Regions from separate parts of the Homo sapiens genome. Here region 2 is linked to region 1. Evidence: promoter capture Hi-C in 16 types of primary human blood cells and fetal thymus (Javierre and others, 2016). All regions are on one chromosome and are shown on one strand. The core of a region is centred on a gene start or on the middle of the fragment in contact, and the rest is flanking DNA. Distances in the headings are between cores, read along the strand shown. Region 1 holds the start of TEX10 (testis expressed 10). Region 2 overlaps LOC101928438 (a long non-coding RNA gene).

The links. The method cuts DNA at HindIII sites, captures the fragments that hold promoters and counts their contacts. A CHiCAGO score of 5 or more calls a contact.
Region 2: a contact is called between a fragment that was not itself captured here and the fragment with the promoter of TEX10 in region 1, in 1 of 17 cell types (total CD4 T cells). The highest score is 6.1, in total CD4 T cells.

Annotation. Positions count from the first base shown.
Region 1 is chr9:100,349,139-100,356,711 of GRCh38, forward strand. TEX10 (testis expressed 10) reads right to left here and starts at 3,804. Exons shown (of 15, transcript NM_017746.4): 1 at 3,634-3,804; 2 at 46-234. The coding sequence starts at 225. LOC105376177 (a long non-coding RNA gene) reads left to right here and starts at 3,912. Exons shown (of 4, transcript NR_188642.1): 1 at 3,912-4,443; 2 at 4,859-4,957. RefSeq lists enhancers at 3,043-3,092, 3,497-4,131 and a silencer at 3,433-3,982. The HindIII fragment of the contact is 13,255 bases long and covers 1-7,573 here.
Region 2 is chr9:99,806,444-99,814,016 of GRCh38, forward strand. The region is part of intron 1 of LOC101928438 (a long non-coding RNA gene); the gene reads right to left. Among named protein-coding and RNA genes, the nearest start is that of NR4A3, 12 kb to the right of the region's middle. The HindIII fragment of the contact is 6,789 bases long and covers 1-6,539 here.

The DNA of each region.
Region 1 (7,573 bases), core at 2,554-5,053:
TTCCAAAGAAAATCTTATTTTGTCAAAACATGATTTATGATTTACCTTTATGTTAAGTTTTCTATTGTTTGTTGGAAGTGTTCCATCCTCTTTGAGTTGCTCAGGCAGATGTATAGTCTTTGTTTTAAAGTTTGTAGGAGTAGCATTTTGTAACTTGGGCTTCTTTTTACCAACTTTCAATTTTACTTTTTGAAAATCATGTTGGCGTTTTCTTTTTTTAGTCATTCTCGACTACTATAATGAAAAGAATTAATTAAAAGCAATGGATAGAGACAAGAATAAATTATGAAAAAAGGCACTTTCCAACACATACTACTGTAACATTTATTTCAATCGTAATCAAGAATCTGATTATGCTGAAAGATCAAAATATTAAAAAATGCTGTTAAGAACTATTAAAAACTCAGTTTAGTGATAAAATACTGTAACAAGGCAACAGTCTTGCCACGGTTTTGCAAAGTTTTTTGGGTCACAGAACCTTTTGTCAAGCTATATGCTAAAGGGAAACCTTCTGAAATGTGTTTTTTTTTTGTTTTCCTTTGTTCGAGTGTAGGAGAGCAGCACAGACTTCCTAGAGATGTAACTTGTATCTGCTGGTGTGCTCCTGGGCTTCGTAAGAGCCTCGGAGGAACTTCTCTAGCAATACCAAACAAAGTTGGAAAACCAATGTTATTCTTTAATGCAGCCTATAACCATTAGAAAAAGATTTATGAACCTAAGCTGAGCATGTGAAAAATGGGTAATATTCAAATACACAGCAAGGAGAATAATAGGCCTTTCAAGAGCAAGGAAAACAAGGTAAAGATCAGGTGTAGGGGATAAACCTAGCACAGCAAAAGTGAATAAACCTCAGACTAAACAGAAAACAGTATTCCCCCTTGGTCCCCAAAAAGGATAAAAAGCAGCATAAAAAGAAATATAATGTAATAGGGGGATAAGGAACAAAGACCAGCTAAGCCACTATTATAATAAATAACTCAGGCATAACACCATGCCATCTTGTACTTCCTCCCCCTCTATACCACATTCCAAACCTTGCACTTACACATGAAATCTTTGATCTGTGTCTCTTACCCATTTCCAGGCCACTACTTTCAAGAAGTCCTTTATTTCTACCATTCAATACCTTCCCCACTGGTACTCCTGCCTACTATCTAGTGTCTCCTCTCTAGTCCACTGGCCCTTTACGAAACAGCTCTCTCTGAACACAGATCTCATGACCAAGACTCAAGAGTTCTCAGCTGTTCTATTCCTCATACATAGTAAAACCTCCTTAGCAGGACATATGAGGTCCTTCCTAATGTGGCCCCATCCATCCTCTCCAGCTTTATCTTCCCACAAGCTAATCTCTATCTAAAACAATAGCCTCTTCTACCTGGAACCAGCTAAATTCTTCTTGAAGCCTTTTCCACACCTGAGAACAATACTGTACACCACTTGAATAGGGTAAGTACCTCTGGAATATATAAAACTTCTGCTAATCTCCTGGTTTATCATAATTATCCTGTGCCTGGCCATAAAAAGTGACAATGCTACACATGAGGGTATAAAAAAATGGGTAAAACGAAAGTTTCCTTTATTACAATATTAATAAAATGGCCAGTGCAATACTGAACAGCTCAAGTTCAAGGAATTCAGAAGCCAATCAGCTATGACAATATATCCAAATTTACTTAATTACAGGGTTATATTAGATCGCCATGAGGTAGGATTTCCCACAGGTTAAGAACCAATTCTACAACCAGATTGATTAGGCTTTTATCCAAACTCTGACGCCTTCCAGCTGTACACTGTCCCAATTTCTATCTACAAAATAGGGATAATCATACACAATTGTAAAACACTCAGAACTGTGCCTGGTACATGGTTAAATACGTATGCTCAAAGCATAAACATGTGCGTGTCCCTCAAGTCTCAGGATCAGGACATACCAAGCCCGGTACTAGATGCATTGTGTACCTCAGTATACAATCTGCACAGAACCATGCAAGGTAGGTGGAACTAAACCCATTTTAACAATGTACCTCAGAAAAGTTTGGAAGTCACGCCTTTATCAAGAAGTTGAAAAGGGATTCATTCACAGAACTGAGCTCTGCAAAACCACCTTTAACATACCAGAATTAACCTGAAGACTGGAAGTCTTCGTGGCAAAACAGTTTGGCTTATTTCATTTGTCCCTATTACCAAATTTTCATCTCACCCACACCTCTAGTTACCTTAGTCTTAAAAAACAAAACAAAACAAAAAAAAAAGCTGGGGGTCGGTGGGTGGGTGGGTGGGAGGGAATAAGGCCTAAAAAGAAGGCCATGATACTCACCTGGCCTCTTTTAATACAAAAATGGTTTTCATTAATTAAGCAAGCACACTTTGTGAGCTTTTCCTACAATTTTATTACTAGCTGGTACTAGACACGAAAGTAAATGGTACAGGACATTCAGAAAAATTAACTCCCTTCCTCCTCCACTCCTGTGGGTTCTATTTAGCCATTAACCACCTGATAGATCTTCAACAGTCTACTGTCAACTTCATGCCATATTATCTATCGCTTTGTATTAGTCACATTAATGCTTTCTCTGTTAGGAAAATTAAGAAGGCTGATTGACCTTCCTTGACTTTTCAAACCTAGTAATATTATTACGGGATACAAAGCATTTTCATGCGAAGAACTCTCAAAGTTCTACTAGTAATTGACTTTAACTTATAACAAAGATTTTCATAACACAGCAAATCAAAAAGTCCCACTAAGCCACTTTTACAGTAGCCGGTTTTTAGCAAAAGGTAGGAACGCCAGTCTCAGAGGAGGAGCTCACATCACTAGTCCTTAGGTTTGCGATCCCCAATAGTTTCAAAGCTGAATGTCACACATTCCTACTGTAGGTCTTTTCTAATTCCAACAAAAGGCAGATCCTAGCGTTTTTAGGATTTCAATCGAACTAAATTCCAACTATAAATAGTTTGCCTGCCACCTTCTTACCCTTCCTCATTTCCACCTTCTTTTCCAAAAAAAATCAGAGAGAACGATCGTACTGCACTCGGCCTTTGATAATTTCCTCCCCAAACCCTTAAACTCATGAGTTCCTCCAAACTCCACTGAGGGGCCAACCAGAGGCGACAGACTTCCCAAAAAGCAAATGGCCCAGGCAGGGGCGACCCCAGAAAACTGGTAGTCCCCTTCCGCTCGCTTAACTCTCCCGCCTGGGCGACCAGAGGACGGAACAGGGGACGCCAGCTCATCCCCACTCCGTATTCGGTCCTGCATCCATCCCAGAGGCGAACACACCATGGGTTTTAGGAAACCATCGTTCCTCCTACTCCAAGGGACGCCGGCCAGGACCAGAGTCGGGGAAGTGGGGCCCGATTCACACACTCCGGGCTAAAACTCTCTCGGACCCGAAACCAGGCGAACCCGCCCAGTCACCTGAAGCTCCGCAAACGCCCTAGGGGGTCCCGCCCCCGCAGTGCCGGCCGCACACCCAGGCCCAGCTCGGAGGGACGCCGCGGCCCAGACCCGGGGGACGCAAATCGTGCACGGCCGACCCTGCCCGCTTGGGCCGCGGATCGGGGGGCGACGGCCCCACCACGCTCAGTCCCGCGCCCCGGGAGGACCCGGCCCGACGGGCGACGGCCGCTTACCTGAGGACCCGGCCGCGGCCGGGGCGAGAAGCCCGAGAAGACAAGCGAGGGAGCAGAAGCCCACGGGGCAACAGCGTGCGCCGCCGACCTCAGGCTCTAGCTCCCGGAGCGTGTTTTCAAATAGCCTCGTCCTCACGCGGCCGCGTCTCCTTCCGCCGCCCGGAAATCAGGGCCCCTCCCCCTCCCTGCTGTGCTCACGTGATCGCAGCCCGCAGCCGCGCGCAACCGGGGAGGCGGGAGCGGGAGCGGTAGGCCCCGCCCACAGAGGAGGGTACCCCGCCGGAAGCCCCCTGCTCTGTGGGAACCGGAGGGAGGACAGCGCGAGGTCCCCGGACAAAGCGTGGCGCATAAGTCCGGCCCGTAACTTGGTGGGCAGGCAACTTAGGGGATGTGGGCCTGGTTATAGCTGAGCATGCTTTTCTATTCCTCCCAGACCACAGTTCTTCAGACCTGGAGCCACTTTCAGAGAAGAGTATAAGTTGCACTGAATTGAAAAAGGGAAAAGTTTAGGACTGCAGAAGATGGAATTCCTGGGGACGTTAAACTGGGCTAAGATGGAGCAGATAAGATTTCCTTAATTAGAGCAAGACACACCTAGTATCTAGAGCCTGGAAGTCTTGGTCAAGGATTCTCCCTAACATCTCAGTTTCTCAGCACTAACATTCCTGCTACTAAAATGAAGTGAGAAATTAATTTCTGAAGTTAAGTAAAGAAATAAACTAAAATTCCTAGAAAAGAGGTAAGAAGAATGAGCCTTTGAAAAATGTCTTCACAAAGACTGGCATGATGGCATGGAAGAAAGAGCCCCAGGTAAGGACTTCAGACCTTGATTCAAATTTGTGTCTACACCTCACCAGATAATTAAGACTTAGTAAAGCTAGCGAAGATATTGACCCTCATTATATTGGGTGGGAATTCAAAGGAATGATGTCTAAATCCAGGGAGACCCAAGCACTGGAACTAAAACCATGCCTGTTCCATAATCGGAGATAAAGAGGCAGCGCTAGAAACCCTGACCTCCCTTTGCTGGCAATATGGCCACATCACCACAATCTGCCTGGAATCGACCATAACCATAAATATTTGGGAGTCATTGGCATTATGTGGCATTATATTCTGTTTAAAGCTATGAGACTAGATCAGAAGAGGAAAGATTTATTGCCAACCAGACAAGTCCCTGGAACTCCAAACTTGTATCCAACAGTTTTTTCAATGTTTCCTTCAGATATCCAGTATACATCTCAAGGTCAACTTGTCCAAAACAGAGCTACTGATGATTTTCCCCTTGAAATCTACTCTTCCTACAGCTTATTCATCTCAAATAGTAAGTCTGTCCTTGCAGTTACTCAAGCAGAAACCTTTGGGTTTTTGGTTTGGCCTCTTTGTTCCACACCTCACATCTAATCCATCTGGAGATTGACTCTACCTTTAAAGACATCCTAACTTTCACCAGTTAACACACCTCCCCTGCTACCATTCTGGTCCAAGCCGCTTCTTGATCACTGCAAAAAGCCTGCAAACACATCTTCCTGCTTCCCTTATTGTCCTTCTTCCCCCTACAGTCTGGTATCAGCAGAGCAGCTGTGTGATTATTTTAAGATCTAGGTTAGATCAGATCACTCTTTGGCTCAAAACCCTTTAATGGCTCCCTATTTCACTTCGAGTAAAACCCAGAGTCCTTTCTAGGGCCTTCCCTTAGGCTGTTCTTGCATGGCTATAAAGAAATACCTGAGACTGGGTAATTTACAAAGAAAAGAGGTTTAATTGGCTCATGATTCTGCTGGCTTTACAGGAAGCATTATGTTGGCATCTGCTTGCTTTTGGTGAAGTCTCAGGGAGCTTTCAATCATAGAAGGTGAAGGGGGAACAGGCATGTCACATGTTGAAAGCAGGAGCAAGAGAGAGAGCAAAAGAAAAGAGACAGAGAGAGAGAGAGGTGCCACACATTTTTAAACAGCCAAATCTGATGAGAACTCACTATCACTAAACAAGCACCAAGCCATGAGGGATCCACCCCCATGACCCAAGCATGTCCCACCAGGCCCCACCTCCAGCATTGAGGATTACAACACAACATGAGATTTGAGCAGGGACAAATATCCAAACCATATCAGTTCTCAAGCTCTTCCATATTCTGACACAGTCTCTTACCATCTGAGCACTCCTCCTTCCACTCTCCCCTTTTTTACTCTGCTCCAGTCACACTTGCTTCTTTGCCTTCCTCAAACACCAGTGACACACTCCTGCTTTTGGACCTTTTCTTTAGCTTTTCTGTCTGCCTGAAACACTCTTCCCCAATAAGTCCATGTGGCTAACTCCCTCTCCTCCCGAGTCCACTCAAATATCTTCTCAGGGAGCCCTACCCTGACCACCTCATTTAAAATAACAAATTACCTTCTCCCAGGACTTGCAATTTCCCTTTAGAACATATCACCTTCTGGGAACATCACACTCTGGGGACTGTTGTGGGGTGGGGGGAGGGGGGAGGGATAGCTTTAGGAGATATACCTAATGCTAAATGACGAGTTAATGGGTGCAGCACACCAGCATGGCACATGTATACATATGTAACTAACCTGCACATTGTGCACATGTACCCTAAAACTTAAAGTATAATAATAATAAAATAAAAAAGAACATATCGCCTTCTAATATACCATGTAATTTACTTATTTATCATAATGATTATTTGATTCTGTCCTTCATCCACCACTAATATGTAAGTTTTACATGGGTCGTTTGTTTTATTCCCTGGTATATTCCAAGTAGCTAGAGCAGTGTCTGGCACCTAGTAGGCCCTCAATAAATATTTGTTGAATAAATGTCTAGGAAGCACCTGCTACATAGCGGTGCTGAGCAAACACTAGCTCTTATTGTTTCCCTACTTCACTGCAGCACAGGGTTTATAGACTCAGCCCATTAAGTGGGTCTGGTGGCTATGTAGCTGACAGAAGTACTCCTGGCCTGACTAAAGGAAGCAGCAGATCTTCAGCAACAGTCAACTGTTGTCATGAGGAAATGCAAATCTTCTCATTTTTCAAGCAAACCGGAAATCCAGTGTTTAAGTCCATTCTCTGCTGCTATAACAGAATACCACAGACTGGGTAGTTTACAATGAACAGAAGACTATTTGGCTAATGCTTCTGCAGCTGAGAAGTCCAAGAGTGTGGCATCAGCATCTGGTGAGGGTCATCCATACCATGACAGAAGGGTAGAAGGCAGAAGTGAGCTCTAGAGACAGAGAGAACAAATCAGGTTGAATTCATCCTATTTGTCAAGAGCTCACACCCAGGATAACTAACCCACTCCCACAATAACAATTATCTATTCATGAGGGCAGAGCCCTCATAACCTAATCACCTCTTAAAGGTCCGGCTTCTCAATACTGTTAGAGTGGCAATTAAATTTCAAAATGAGTTTTGGAGGGGACATTCAAACCATAACATCCAGAAATGTTTATAAGAAATCTGCTCTTTAAATATTGGCAAGTACATTTTTCCCCCTATTTTCGAAACACTGTGTAGGCCAAACAAAATACTTATTGCCAGTTGCCAGTTTACTGTCTCTGGTTTAGGACATAAAAAGTTTGTACTTGAAGACAGGCTTTTTCCAACTCTTAAGTGATGAACGCAACAATTGTAAGGATTGATCACTTCCCGAGCTTGAAGAGATCTTTGATAAATAACAAGCATGTAATTAATCAAGGTCCTTCACCCATGCCAGAAAAACATTATTTACAACGAACATACATTCTGGAATGTGTAGGACACTCCAATTCCAAAACTCTGTCCAGTTGGCCACATAGGTGCTGTGTTTAGTTTCCGCAGCCATAACAAAGTACCACAAACTGGGTAGCTTAAATAACAGAAATTTCTGGATCTCAGTTCTGGAGACCATGGAATCTGAAATCAAGGTATCAGCAGGATTGGTTCCTTCTGAG
Region 2 (7,573 bases), core at 1,895-4,394, 540 kb before region 1:
AACTTCAATGGACTTTGAGATTTGCAAATGTAACAATCACTTACAATCATTATCACTAACGATTTATATCCTTAAGATGAAACATCCTTCAAGAATGCATTAGGTGCACCAGGTGCAGTGGCTAATGCCTGTAATCCCAACACTTTGAGAGGCCAAGGTAGGAGAATCCCTTGAGCCCAGTTCACGACCAGCCTGGGCAACACAGGGAGACCTCATCTCTACAAAAAATGAATAAAATTAGCCTGGTGTGGTGGTGCACACCTGTAGTCCCAGCTACTCAGGAGGCTGAAGTGGGAGGACTGCTTGAGCCCAGGAGGTCAAGGCTGCAGTGAACCGAAACTGCACCATGGCACTCCAACCTGGGCAATAGAGTGAGGCCTTGCCTCAAAAAAAAAAAAAAAAAAAAAAAAAAAAAGCATTAGGTGCTCCTCCTGAGTCACTAAAGTATGGGTGATGTTATTTTAATATACTTAACTTCACTGCCTTTCCATAGGTAGCAATTAAATCATTCCCAAGATGCAAGTTAAACATTTGGTTCTCAGGATCACCAGTAAAAATTTCAAATCAAAACTTAGGAAATCCACAGCCACTATTTTGTACAAACATAGATTAATACTACTCTATGGCATAACCCACAACTTTAAATATTTATCCCCCTGTGAATGGGATTATAAAGGTACCTACTATATCATCTCAGACCCAATAAGAAGTTTAGCAACAAATGTCTCCTAATTTTCATGATCTCCATGTGGCCTATATAAAAGTAAACTGTGAACCTCTTCCAACAACAGTAGCCTCTACATTTTTTAACCAATTTCACATGAGACTGACAAGATACTAGTTATCCTGAGAAATGTGTTAAGTTTCCTGACAAATAAAGCCTGAACTAAGATCTCCCTTAAGTAGTCTAACTCTACAACCTCAGAATTCTTAAGAAACAAAAAATATCCTAAGAAGTTATCCATTCCCCTCATCCATCTTAGCAACCAAGTGGAGAATCTGGCCCCTCGCCACTAGAGGGGGGTGTTTCTTTTATTGGTTTCTCTTTCCCCCTAATTCGGCTGACCAGAATTTCTGGTTGAACTAGAAATAAGCCTCAAGATCAACATCCTGACCTTTATTTTTAATATCGTGTGGCCTTTTTTCTTTTTTTCAGGCCTAGTTAACACTAAAATATAAATTTCAATCCCTAATTACTTGTACTATTATGCCCCACATCATACTCCGTTGCCTTTCTACAAAGAGACTAACAAACTACACAATTTAGAGACTTTGACATTAGTTCACTGAAAATAAACAGAAAATCCAACCAAGTTTGAGTGTTTTTTTAAAAAAACCTTCTCATTTGCCAGGTTCATTATTTCATTTGAATCACTATAATACTATTTTAAAAATTAGACAGACAATAGCAACAAACTTTAAGGAAAAAATATACTTAAGAGACTTGCCCAAAATTTCAGGTAGCAAATGGCTAGGCCATAATGAAGACTCAAATGCTCTGACTCCTAGACCATTTCCAGTTCTATTATTCTATGCCATGAGTGAAAGGTACTAGATGAGAAGACCAAGGGGTGAACTACTCTTACTTTTTACTCTACCAGTCTAGAGCAAATAGATGTATGATTACTCATGTAACTCACTATTGCTCCTGGCAAATAACATATACCCATCTGCTTAGAATAGTCTCCACTGGCCACAAAATCAAGTCACAAGATGAGGAAGGAGTGGATGAAGGAGATAAGGGGAAAGAGTTGCAGAAGAGAAGAAAATAAATCTATCAAACAATCTTGAGGTCAGGCATGAGACACAAAATATACAAAAGTGAGGACCAAGATCTAAGCAAGAAATCAGAATCAGAATCAGAAAAAGAAGGAATGAACAACAAATGGTAGCAGTCACACCACCAGATATTCAAACAACCCAAAAGACTCTGGAAGAGACAATGAGTGCTGTTTGATTCCTTGCTGCTTCCTATGAAGATCCCTGGTCTAAGGCAGAGCCCCTTAGAAAAGATAGAGACAAGACCTGGCCAGTTAGAATCTGCATCCACTTTATGAAGGCAGAAGACATGGGGAGGGAAGAGCCCCAGCAAAAAGAAACCTATCCAAATAATATCAAATCCACCTGACGTGAATCTGCTTGGGACAAAGTAGGTATCACATCAGGATGTTTCTGGCTGCAAATGACAAATTCGCAGATCATGCCTACTTACACAATGAGGAACTGTATTATCTCACAGAACTGGAAGTTCAGAGGTAAGGCAGACCAAGTACAATACAATCAGCAATTCAGGAAGGTCATCAAGGGCTCAGGTTTCTTCCATCTGTTCTGTCATCATCTAGATCAGCTGCACCCCCCAAAGCTAGTTTCCCTCATGGTCCCAAGATGGATAGAGCAGTTCTAGCCACTATACTCAAACATAAAATCACAGGGAGATGAGGCATCATCTCTTTCTTTTCTCTCTGTTTAGAATCAATAAATCCTTTCCCAGAAGCACTCAAGCCGTCTGTAGACTTTTCCTTCATCTCTCATTGGCCAGAATAGGTTACAGGCCATTCCTAACTCTTCACCGGCAAGGGAAATGGGATTAACCATGACTGCTTAGACAAATCACCTGCGGTGGGATGAATACTGGGGAGTCAATCACCATGACCATACCATGGGCAATTTATACTGATGAGTATTATTATGACATTGTTTTCACTCCATAACAAATCTATAATGTGATTATGCTGCTTCAATGATCTTAACTACAAGGCATGTGCTTTGCCTGAAATCCAGATAATTACTCTTTGCTCACATCCCATATTTTTCAACATGAACTTATTTATCAGATAGAAAACATTTTATTAAAACTTTCCCAGTCAGGCCAGGCATGGTGGCTCACACCTATAACCCCAGCACTTTGGGAGGCCAAGGTAGGAGGATCCCTTGAGCCCAGGAGTTTGAGACCAGCCTGGACAACATAGGGAAACCCCTGTCTCTACAATTAAAAAAAATTAGCCCGGTGTGGTGGCATATACCTGTAGTCCCAGCTACCTGAAGCCAGTAGGATCGCTTGAGCCGGGAGGTCAAGGATGCAATGAGCCATGGTCTTGCCACTGCTCTCCAGCCTGAACAACAGATCAAGACTTTGTCTCAAAGAAAAACAAACAAACAAAAACTTTCTTGGTCAATCCACTGTAAAAAAAAAAAAACAAAAAACAATAACTTTAATGTAACATCTTAGAAGCAAGAGTAGTAACTCATTTGTCTCCCACAGCAACTACAGTGGATACAGCCACCTAGAACCCAACCTTGAGAAAGACTTAAAGCTGAGTCTGGATCTAGTGAGAAATAGTGCCATGACTGATTAGTGAGTCTATCATGACTCAGGTTCAGGCACAACACATAGCACATATTTGCCAACCCTGTTTTAGAGAAAATCTCCTAATTTCCCTCCACTGATAATGGAGTTCTCTGCTGCAATGCCTCTTTATTCTTATTTTAATGGAGACCCAATATAATCCCTCCCATCTCTTCACTCTATCTGATTTGCATACATATACATATAACATATATCAAGCATGAACTCCAAAAAAATTTTTATATATAACCAGAGAGTTCCACAGGAATTCTGGAACCAGGCCTCTTTAGTAACCATAGAAAGGCTTGGCAGAATGGTTTCATTTACAAAGTGTCTCACTTAAAGCAGGCAGGGGGGCCTTGAGAGCCCAGGCTGGATGCAGGCCTAGGCAGGATTGAGGGACAGAAGGGAAAAGAGAAAGGCAATCTATTCCCAGCTAAAGGTAGCCTGGCCCACAGTTGCACAAAGGAACCAAAATCTGATTCTCAACAAAAGTGACTAACCAATAACTGGAGAATGCTTAAATAAATTATGGCAAATTACAAACTATAGGTAGAGTTTATGTGTATAAAATGCACTTAGAAGGATAGGGAAGGACAACAGTGGTTATTCCTGGGTGAATTAATTTATAGCTTTTTTCTTTTTTCCTTCTAGTCTTTATCTACATTTTTCTGAATGTCCTGTACTGCATATGCACAGCCTTTTTTATGAGGGGAAAAGAAAAATAATACAGGAAACATGTTTTTATCTTATCACTGGGTGTTTTGTTTGTTCCAATTAACCTCTTATTGCCTTTTAGTTAAGATTACTCTTGTCCAACTATTCTCCTATTACTGGGTAGCTAGGTTGCTTTAACTTTTTGAAATCACAAGCAATCAAATGCTGCCATAGCTGAAAGTTAACTTGAACTGTAAAAGAAAAATACTGGAAAAGTCCCTAGAAAATGGACCAAAAGTATCTAATCATTTTACACTGAAATTACCACTACTCAAAAACTATTAACAGGATATTCATTTTGACCAACTCATTGTTTTGACGAAATCATTGTTTCAATTAATAGCTGATTACAACAAATCAGTTAACCAACTTGCTTTCAGCTAAATTGTACTTGACCACATTGCTTTTGGCCAAAATAACTTTTAAGTCAAATTGGTACTGGACAAAGAGGGTACTACCAGCATCAGGCGGCAAGTCTGAAGGCAGAGATAAGAAACAGGATCAAAAGGTAAGCCTCAATAATAAAGAATAGGCAAGATGGCCTGGACAAGTTTAGAAAGGAAATATAGCCTAGGGCAATGGTTCAAAGTGGAAGGAAGTCTTTTATCAGGTAGCTATAAAACTAGCCCACATAGCTTAGAGAATGCTAGTAAGGAAAGGTATCAAATAAATTCAGTTTCATCTGCCTGCTTGGACACTCTCACCTAGAAGAACAAAGCTAGGGTTTTCCCTAGGTTCCACAGATGAAACAACATCTGCTTGGGGTTCAAACTGAGAAGGAATGTTTCCAAAATCATTTATCCACAGCCTCACTTTCCAAGTAAATGAGGTTCTTGAGCTGGCCATTGCATCATGGGGAATCAACACCACCTTGTTGGCATTTTATGGTTCCCATCTCAAATTACAGAAGGTAATATCCCATGCTGTCAGACAAAGCAGAGGTAGCAGATGAGAGTAATTTGCATGGAGGGAAGCAACCCAAATCGGACTGCCTCTAGAGTAAAGGACCCAGGTAGTACACCTTTAGCTTCTGGAATAACTGATCACCATGACTAGAGAGAGCCCGAAGACATCTCCAGTTTGAACAGTCTTCTAAGGAACCTGATTACAGTTAGGATTTCTTTTTAACCAGTTATTGCTCAATGAAAAATCCTGGAGAGCTTCTGAGTACCCCGTATTCATTCCAACATTAACTGACTGCCAGGCTGCGTGCGGTATTGCTGAGGAAAGCAGGGAGGCAGCAGGGAGAAAGACATCTCTGCCACTGAAGAAGGTGTTCTACAGGAAGGAAAGCAGAGAATTGTATTCATATTCAGTCACAGCAGAGTAGGTGTGAAAAAAAAAAGGAGATGAATCAGTCTTGTTTTGAGTAAGAAGCAAAACAGCGTAGAGGTAGACTATTCACAAATGGTGTTGAGACAACTGCGTAGCCATTTGGAAAAAAATAAAGTTGGACCTACCTCTCATACCATACACCAGGAAAAATGGATCAAAAATTTAAATGCAAAACAGAAACCATGAAAGTAGTAAAAGCCAACGTGAGGGAATTCTTTCATAACCTTGGAGTAGTATAGATTTTTCTAACTATGACTAAATCTAGAAGTCATAAAAGACTGACAAATTCAAGTACATTTTTTAAAAAATCTACATAGCAAAAACATCATAAGCAAAGTTGAAAGACAAATGACAAACTACGGGGAAATACGCTGCAACTCATATAACAAAGGGCAAATCTCCATATTATAAACAGCAACTACAAAGTGATTTTTAAACCACCCCCACCTCCCAAAATAGGCAAAGGATATAAGACACACTTCACCAAAAGGAAATATAAATGGCTCTTAAGCATATGAAAAAGATGTTCTAACTTACTCATGAGAGAAAGAAATTAAAGTTACACTAAGATAACATTTTCACCGACCAGACTGGAAAAAAACCTAAGGTTAAATAACACATTGTTGGCAAGAATATGAGTATTCAGGCACTTGCCTATATTTTTAGTGGAGTGTAAACTGTACAACCTCTATGGAGAGTAATTTGGTAGTACCTATCAAACTACTATGATATATATACCCTTTGGCCCAGTAATTCAATTTCTAGGAATTTACCCTACAAATGTATTTGCACAAGTATAAAATAATCTATATAACAAAAGTATTTATTGTAGCATTACTTGTAATTTGTATCCCTCAATTGCTAGGAATTTATCCTACAAATATATTTGCACAAGTATAATCTATATAACAAAAGTATTTATTGTAGCATTACTTGAAACAGCAAAAAGATTGAAAACTTCCCAAATGTCCATCAATATGGGGCTGGCTAAATAATGATATATTCACACAATGACATGAAGAGATCTCCAAGATACATTATAAATGAAATATATCTCAGATATATCTCAGATATTTTTCCACTGTTATGGACAGAACTCCAAGATACACTATTAAGTGAAAAAGGCAGAACAATACGTGTAAGCTTCCATGTGTATAAAAAAGGAAAGGGAAACAGAATTTATATTTGTAGTGTCTTGGAAATGCATTAAAAAACTCTGGAAGGATCTCGGCACTTTGGGAGACTGAGGCAGGCAGACTGCTAGAAGTCAGGAGTTTCAGACCACCCTGGCCAACATGGTAAAACCCCGTCTCTACTAAAAACACAAAAATTAGCCGAATCTGGTGGCTTGCACCTGTAGTCCCAGCTCCCAGCTACTCGGGAGGCTGAGGCGGGAGAATCTCTTGAACCCAGGAGGCAGAGGTTGCAGTAAGCTAAGATCGCACCACTGCACTCCAGCCTGAGCAACAGAGAGAGACTCTGTCTCAAAAAAAAAAAAAAAAAAAGAACAATAACAACAACTCTGGAAGGAGGGTCATTTAGTAGGGGACCGGAGTGGAAAGTAAACTTCTCATTTCTAAATGCTTTGTCATTTGAATCATGTAAATGTATTATCTTTTCAAAAATTAAATCTTAACATGTTTAAATATGTTAAGTAGATATAAGTTGAGTTCCTAGTTAACACCCTACATGTAAGCCTCTCAGTCTATGGGTGATAGATATTAGACAAGTAACTATGCACTCGGAGGCCTTGAATAGTAACATCTAGAACTGGAAAGCAAAGTGAGGATTACAGTTGGAAATCAATTAGAGTTGAGGAACTCACTGATGAATAGGTTATATATGCCGCCCAGGCAGAGACAGTGAAGAAAAGAGAAAAGAACACAATCTTGTGAAACTATCGCAGCAAAAGTGGCATATCAAAATAGAGAGATAAGCCAGAGATTAATTCCTGGGGGTACCTGGGGTTAAAAAGTAAGGCATAACAATTCCTCAGGACACCTGAATCGGTTCTCAGTTCAAATGCAGATGTCCCAGAGTGCTATAACTCAGGGGTACCTCCCTCAATCTGGGCAACCAGAAGTGTCTGTAGACTCGGTGCAACGGTGGAAGAGGGTAGTGCAGGTGCAGCAGCACAGTGATGTACGCTCCTCTCTTATGCCTAACGAGTGAAAC